2 separate regions of the Homo sapiens genome follow, and region 2 is linked to region 1. The links are contacts of gene promoters, found by promoter capture Hi-C in blood cells and fetal thymus (Javierre and others, 2016). All regions are on one chromosome and are shown on one strand. Each heading gives the region's core, a stretch centred on a gene start or on the middle of the fragment in contact. The rest is flanking DNA. Distances are from core to core; before and after follow the strand shown.

What was found. The method cuts DNA at HindIII sites, captures the fragments that hold promoters and counts their contacts. A CHiCAGO score of 5 or more calls a contact.
Region 2: a contact is called between a fragment that was not itself captured here and the fragment with the promoter of NUAK1 in region 1, in 1 of 17 cell types (endothelial precursors). The highest score is 5.0, in endothelial precursors.

What each region holds. Positions count from the first base shown.
Region 1 is chr12:106,137,033-106,140,303 of GRCh38, forward strand. It overlaps NUAK1 (NUAK family kinase 1), which reads right to left and starts at 1,922. Exons shown (of 7, transcript NM_014840.3): 1 at 1,382-1,922. The coding sequence starts at 1,621. RefSeq lists enhancers at 351-852, 3,244-3,271. The HindIII fragment of the contact is 5,150 bases long and covers 1-3,271 here.
Region 2 is chr12:105,599,337-105,602,665 of GRCh38, forward strand. No RefSeq gene overlaps it. Among named protein-coding and RNA genes, the nearest start is that of CASC18, 100 kb to the right of the region's middle. The HindIII fragment of the contact is 1,719 bases long and covers 461-2,179 here.

The DNA of each region.
Region 1 (3,271 bases), core at 672-3,171:
TCTCAAATTTCCAATTAATTGATAACAGATTTTTTTTTAAAATAACGTTATGGGACGAAGTTATATAGACCCAAACATCAAATCTGAGAAATGGGTTGGGAGGGCGTTATCCGGGTATCCAGATATTTGAGAATTTGGGGACTGAACTTTGCTGACTGGCACCCCCATGTTTTTTTCACAGAACTGTTCCTGCCGAAATGCAAAAGAAACATGTCAATACTAAGCTGCTATTTTATTTGACAGCTCATTTTCCTTTTTCCCTGCAGTCATTTGTTGTTTATAAGCAAACCTGAGCCTCCAAAACACCCCCAAAAGTGCACACAAGGAGTCCCATAATCAGTTTCTGACTTTGGCCCTAAATCGATTAGAATACATCTGATCTGCTTCAAATCAAAGAACCATGTTAATTTTCTGCCACACACCACACAAAATCTTTCTGCAACAGTCAGTCACTTTGAACCCAACTCTCTAGCCACAAGCAGTGTGGATTTCAAGGGCCTGTTCTGCAGAAGTGAAAATAACAACAAACCAAGGCTGGGACAAGGCAGACAGACCCCAAGGCACTCAAAGCACTCCTTGGAGCTGTGCAAATGGTGCCAGGACCCTGGCAGGGTGTCAGCTGTCACAAGAGCAGCGGGGCCAGACCCCTTCAGCGGTTTGGTAGCCCTGCAACCAGGAGCTGAAACACAACTGAGCCTGCTGCAACTAAGCACAGCTATCTCTGTAGCTACCCATGCCCTGGACATTTCGGTCCTCCCAAAGCCATGATGCAAACTGTTAGAATCCTCAGGCTTGCAGTAGTCTTTATTTTTGCTCCCTAACCTTGTCTCAAAAACAGGCAAGAGTCGCCCTCCCTTGCAGTCACAGCAGTATCAGGGCGATGCAGAGTCTGAGTGGGAGGATGCAGAGCAAGGAGCTGCGGGCAGATGGGTGGAAGGGGGTAGGGACACCTACAAAACACCGGACTTGAGGGGCTAGCTCCTAGCTGGGAATGTGGTTCTTTGGAGAGTTGTGGAAATAAGACGTTTCGGGGCATGGTCTAAATGAGTGCCTGCGAGGGAGAGAGACCCCGGCCGTCCCAACGCTGCAAAGTGTTTGCAAATCTAAAACATTCCTTTGCTGCTAGGATTAAATTTTTAAAAACAAACCAAAAAATAAAATAAAATATGTGCAGACAGGATGTAACAAGTGTTTCAGGACAGAGACACGCCTGAGTCACGGGGTGCTGGAGAAAGAGTGAGGAGTCTGTCTCGGGGCTTCCCAATGAGCCCCCTCTCTGTCAAGAGAGCCCCAGGGCGCACAGACCCCCGCCTCGCACGCCCTCAGTCCCCGGCCGCGTCCACCCAGCGCCCCCCGCACCCTCCAGGATTGCCCCACTCACCACTCGGCCAGAAAACCTCTCGGTGGCCCGCTTGACTTTGCCGTAGGTGCCTTTGCCCAGGGTCTCCTGCAGCTCGTAGCGGTGCTTCAAGTTGTGCTTGTGGTGATGCCGCTTCACCCCGTGCGGCTTCCTGGGCTCCAGGGCTGCAGTCGCCCCCGCCACCGCCTCTCGGGGAGAGCCCGGCGCCCCCAGCCCCAAGTCGGGGCGGTCCCCCGCCACAGGCGCGGCGGCCCCTTCCATGTCCAAGCGCGGGGCGAGCCGGGCTACAGAGGGCAAGACCGGGCACAGCGCTGGGATGTCGGGGTCCCCACCGAGGGAAGCCGCTGTACGCTCAAGGTCGCCCCCGCAGCATCAGGGAGGCGGCCCGATACCGCTCGGACTGCGGCTCGGTCACTGGCGGCGGCGGGGACTGCACATCTGGCGCCCGCGGCGCGCACGGTCCGCGCACCGCCCCCCGGCCGCGGCGAGCTGTGGAGCGTCGGGCGAGGTGGCGGCGGTGGCAGGGGAGGCGGTGGTGTTTGCAGGAGGGAGGGGAGAGGGTGGCTCGCAGCGCAGGAGGGGGAGTGTTATGTGGGGCGCCGCGCCCCCCAACCCCTCCCCGGGAGGACGCGCAGACGGGGCGGGGGCGGCGCTCGCGCGGCCCCAGGGGAGGGGGAGCGAGGGGCGGTGCAGCCAGGGCTTCCCCCACCTCCCTGCAGCCACCCGGGGCCGGGGCCGCCGTGAGCTGGGAGGGGGATGGGAGCGTGTCGCGACTCGCCCTTTGTGCGGCGCGGCGTAGGCCACGGCGGCGGCGGCGGCGGCGGCCAGGAGTGCTTTGTCCTCGCTGGGCCGGAAGGGACCGGGAAATTCCAAGCCGGGCGCCCCCTCCCCGGGCGCTCTCGGGCTCGCCAGTCGCAGCTACCGCGGGCCCTCCGCCGCCTCGGGCTCCGGGGCCGGTCGCTCGGCCTGGATTCCTGCTGGCGCCGGGGCGGCGGTTGCGGCTGGCCGAGCCCCGGGGCCGGGGAAGAAAGAGCGCCGCGAGCCGGGGGCCGCCGGGACCTGCTCGCGATACGGCCGGGGCCGCCGCGGGCCTGGGCGCCCCTTCATTTTCTTGTAGGTGTCGCCGCAGCCTGGCGGCCGGAGCTGGGGGAGGGGGCAGGGAGGCCTGGTGTTCGGTTACAGGCGGTGACTCACGGACCTTGCCCGCCCGAGGCTGGCACCCCGCGGGGCAGAGCTGCGCCCGCCTGGGGCAACTCCGAGTCCAGGAGAACCCCAAGAGCGGCGCTTTGGCCCCGGCCCCCGCGCCCTCTCCGAAGAAAGGAGAGTCAGGGACGGAGGGAGGCCGGGAGGCTGAACCCCGGGCCCGCCGTCGAACCGCCGGCCCTCCGACACCATCTGGACCCCGGCGGGGACAGCCGCCTGGAAGGGGAGGAAGGCCAGGGACGTGGAAGAGATGGGGCTCTAAAGGCGCCGGGACGGAGCTGGCTCCCCAGAGGCGCCCACCCTGCCAGCGAAGGCCGCCATCGGAGGTGGGCAAACCAGGGACCTGGGGTGGACCAGGACCCCGGGCCTGCTGAGCAACCCGTTTGCTGAGCAGGAGGCGATTTGCAGGCCTCTTGCCTCCTTAGGCCTTGGGAGATTTCCTTTCACTGAAAGGGCCAGATCCTGGCGATGGTGACAGGAACGGTACCCCGCACGGTAAGGGTCAGGCAGGAAGGGCCTCCCACCGCGGCGTGGCTGCCGCCGTTCTAAGAAGAGACCATGAAAAATAAGGAAGAAGGCTAGAGAAAAAGAGGTCTTAGGGAAATTTTTTTTTTTAACAAGTGGTGCAATGTACCAGACTAGGGTGGGAAGAGTGAAGGCTGAAGAAGGTCTGGTGTTCTGCAGATCGCATGGCGGTTCTTTTCCACC
Region 2 (3,329 bases), core at 70-2,569, 540 kb before region 1:
TTTGGGGTGCCCTCTATGAGGAAGGGATATCAAAACTCAGACCCAAAGAATGGGTATATTAGCTAAGGTAATGCTAGCTGCTGTAACAAACAAATCCCCACATCCCCGCATTTCACTGACATGACTGAAGTTTACTTCTCATTCATGGGACTGCCAATGTGTTTGGTGGGTGGCCTTCCTCACAATGATTTGGGGACCCAGGCTCCATCCATCTTGTAGCTCCATCATCTCCTAGGACCTGGAAGTCCTTTACTTCCAGTTGGTGGATGGAAAAATAGGGCAGAGTAGGCACACCTGCCTCTTAACCACTATGCCCATGAGTGGCTGCATATTTACACTCACATTCTACTGGGGACATCTAGTCACATGGCCCACCTGGATGCAAAAGGCTTGGAAATATAGTTGCTGACTTGGTAGTCACATGCCAGCAATAACTGCATTCTGTGGAAGGTGAAAATGAAGCTTTAGAGTCTCTGACTCAATGAGTTAGCTAAGCAATGAGAGAGAGGCTTGGTGTTCCAGCTAAAGGATGGCACATTTTAAAAAAGTCCCAGAGGTGAGGAAAAGCCAGGCCCAATTTGAACGTTGCCAGATTTACGCCACATTTAACCAATAAAAATAGTTGGGTGCAGTGGCTCATGCCTGTAATCGCAGCACTTTGGGAGGCTGAGGCAGGCAGATTGCTCGAGGTCAAGTTTGAGACCAGCTTGGCCAACATGGCGAAACCCTATCTCTACGGAAAATACAAAAAAAAAAAAAAATATTAGCCTGGCATGGTGGCACGTACCTGTAATCCCAGCTACTCGGGAGGCTGAGGCATGAGAATTACTTGAGCCTGGGAGGCAGAGGTTGCAGTGAGTCAGGATCGTCCCGCTGCACTCCAGCCTGGGTGACAGGGCAAGACCCATCTCTCTCTCTCTCTCTCTCTCTCTATATATATATAGTCACATTTAAATTTTGTTTATTTATTAATATTTTAGGATTAATTTATTCATTCTAAAATATTATTTGGGATTAAAATTAAATAAATTTAAATTTGACTAATTTAAATTTATTTAATTTTAATCCCAAATAATGCTTTAGGATGAATATGACCCAAACAGTCCATACAGTTAAGCTGGATCCTGTGTTTTATGTGGCTATTCTACATTTAGGGAAAGAGCAAATAGTTCAGAATGACCAGAGCATAGAGTTTAGGTGAGAGGGAATTGGAGATTATGAATGGAGATGGATAAGTAAGCACAGACCAGGCTTTGGAAGGTCCTTTTAAGCAATACTAAAAATTTTATTCTGATAGCAGAGAGGGTCATCAAAGGGTTTTAAATAGGGGACAGGGTGTGAGGCATGCTCAGAACTGCATTTTAGGAAATGCTAGAGGTGGTGAAGAATATGGATTATAGTGGAGGTAATAGAAGGGGTGACCAGAGCAAGGGGATGGTGGCCAAACCAGGGGCCAAACCCAGGTCTCCAAGACTGAATTCATCAATGCATGATTTGTCAAGGTGCTTGGAAGCTGTTTAGAATAGTGGGAACAGCATGGGTTCTGGAGACCTTGGGTCCAATTCTGAATAGCTGGGTAGCCTTTAGCCCTTTCTAGGACTCACTTCCTTATCTCTAAATTCCTCCAGAGCTCTAGGATTTGACCTATTCCTGCAGAATGAGTCTCCTCTATCTCAGCATTCTAGTTTCTTCCATACTCAGACACTGAAAATCTGAGAATCTCACAGCTACAAGTCAGACCATGCCTAGCTCTGGTGCTTATATAACTGTCAGAATCTTTACCATGTTTTTCCTCTATCAACAGTTTGGTGCTATCAGCCTAGCTTCCACTGGCAAATCCATCACGTTAAGCTGAAAGAAGTCACACCTGCCAGGCCCAAGCTGTTTATCTCAATAATTTCCCCACATAAAGCACAAACAGGGGACTATTTATTTTCCTTCCTGACATACATAAGGCTGTTAAAAGTCTGAGCGCACTGGCAGTTTACATGAAGCTAACCTTAATTGCATACTAGAGAGCCATAAAAGGAAGATCAGGGCCTCATTAGCTAGGGACCAATTTTACATTTTTCTCCTCTGACCAAAACTGTTTAAAAATGTGGAGTACTATCTCATTCCAGCCAGACATAAATTTCAGTGCTGTCAAAATGCCCTTGCTGAATTCCAACTTTTCTTGAAAAGCTTGAAAATGTTCAGTGTGTCAACTTGGATTACAGAAACAAAATAGTATATCTTCCTTGGTTTCCCCCAACCCCAAATGAATGAATCTCTCTCTCCTATATAGACAGCACAACCTCAGTGACCCAGAGTACGTGATCGTGATCAATTTTGTCTTTTATGATTCAGGACTAATCAGAAATACTTTCTCACCTCCTTGTGTAAAATTTTCCTGGCCTTCCTGTTTTTTTCAGGGCATCTATGTTGTGTCAGGGACTCTGACATCAGTGTACTTTTGTGTGTCATATCTCCACATCCACAATTGCAGCCCAAATGTCTACCATCCCCACAACCTTCCCCTGCCTAACAGCAGGGCTGAAGCTCAATGCTCCTTCCCTGAGTTCTGCAGTATCTCTGGTAGCTCCCAAGCCAGCCCAGTGGCCGCAGTCACCAGAAAGCATCACTCTGCGACTTGGCTTCTGCTTCAGCTCGCCTTTCCTTTGGCCAGTGCCTGCTTAGGTATTAGGAAAATTCTCCTTCCTCTCGTACTGCTAATACCACCATTGTTTGTGTCAGGCCCACTTCCAGCTGCTCCCAGGAGAGAGCTGGGTCATATTTATAGAGTCAAGGAGTCCTCACAACTCTATATCCCACTTTGCCGCTGGGCCCCCAAAGCAGCTTTTCTTGTGCTCAGCATCTCACTAAATCCTCATCAGCTTCCACTCCATCTTTTTTCCCCATTAGGTGCCCAACCAGGCTAAAGGACCTGAATTGTGAAGGAGGTCATCTAGCTTTGACATTTCCTTTTCCATCACATTCTCCCTCCTTACTTCCAGCAAGCTTCTCTTTCCTGGGTGATATGGTTTGGCTTTGTCCCCATTCAAATCTCATCTTGAATTGTAGTTCCCGTAATTCCCACATGTTGTGGGAGGGACTCGGTGGGAGATAATTGAATCATGGGGGCGGTTTCCTCCACACTGTTCTCTTGGTAGTGAGTTAGTCTCACCAGATCTGGTGGTTTCTAAGGGGAAACCCCTTTGCTTGGTTCTCATTCTCTCTCTTGCCTGCTGCCAATGTAAGAAGTGCCATTCACCTTCCACCATGATTGTGAGGCCTCCCCACCACGTGAAACTGTGAGTTCATTAAACCTCTTTTTCTTTATAAATTACTCA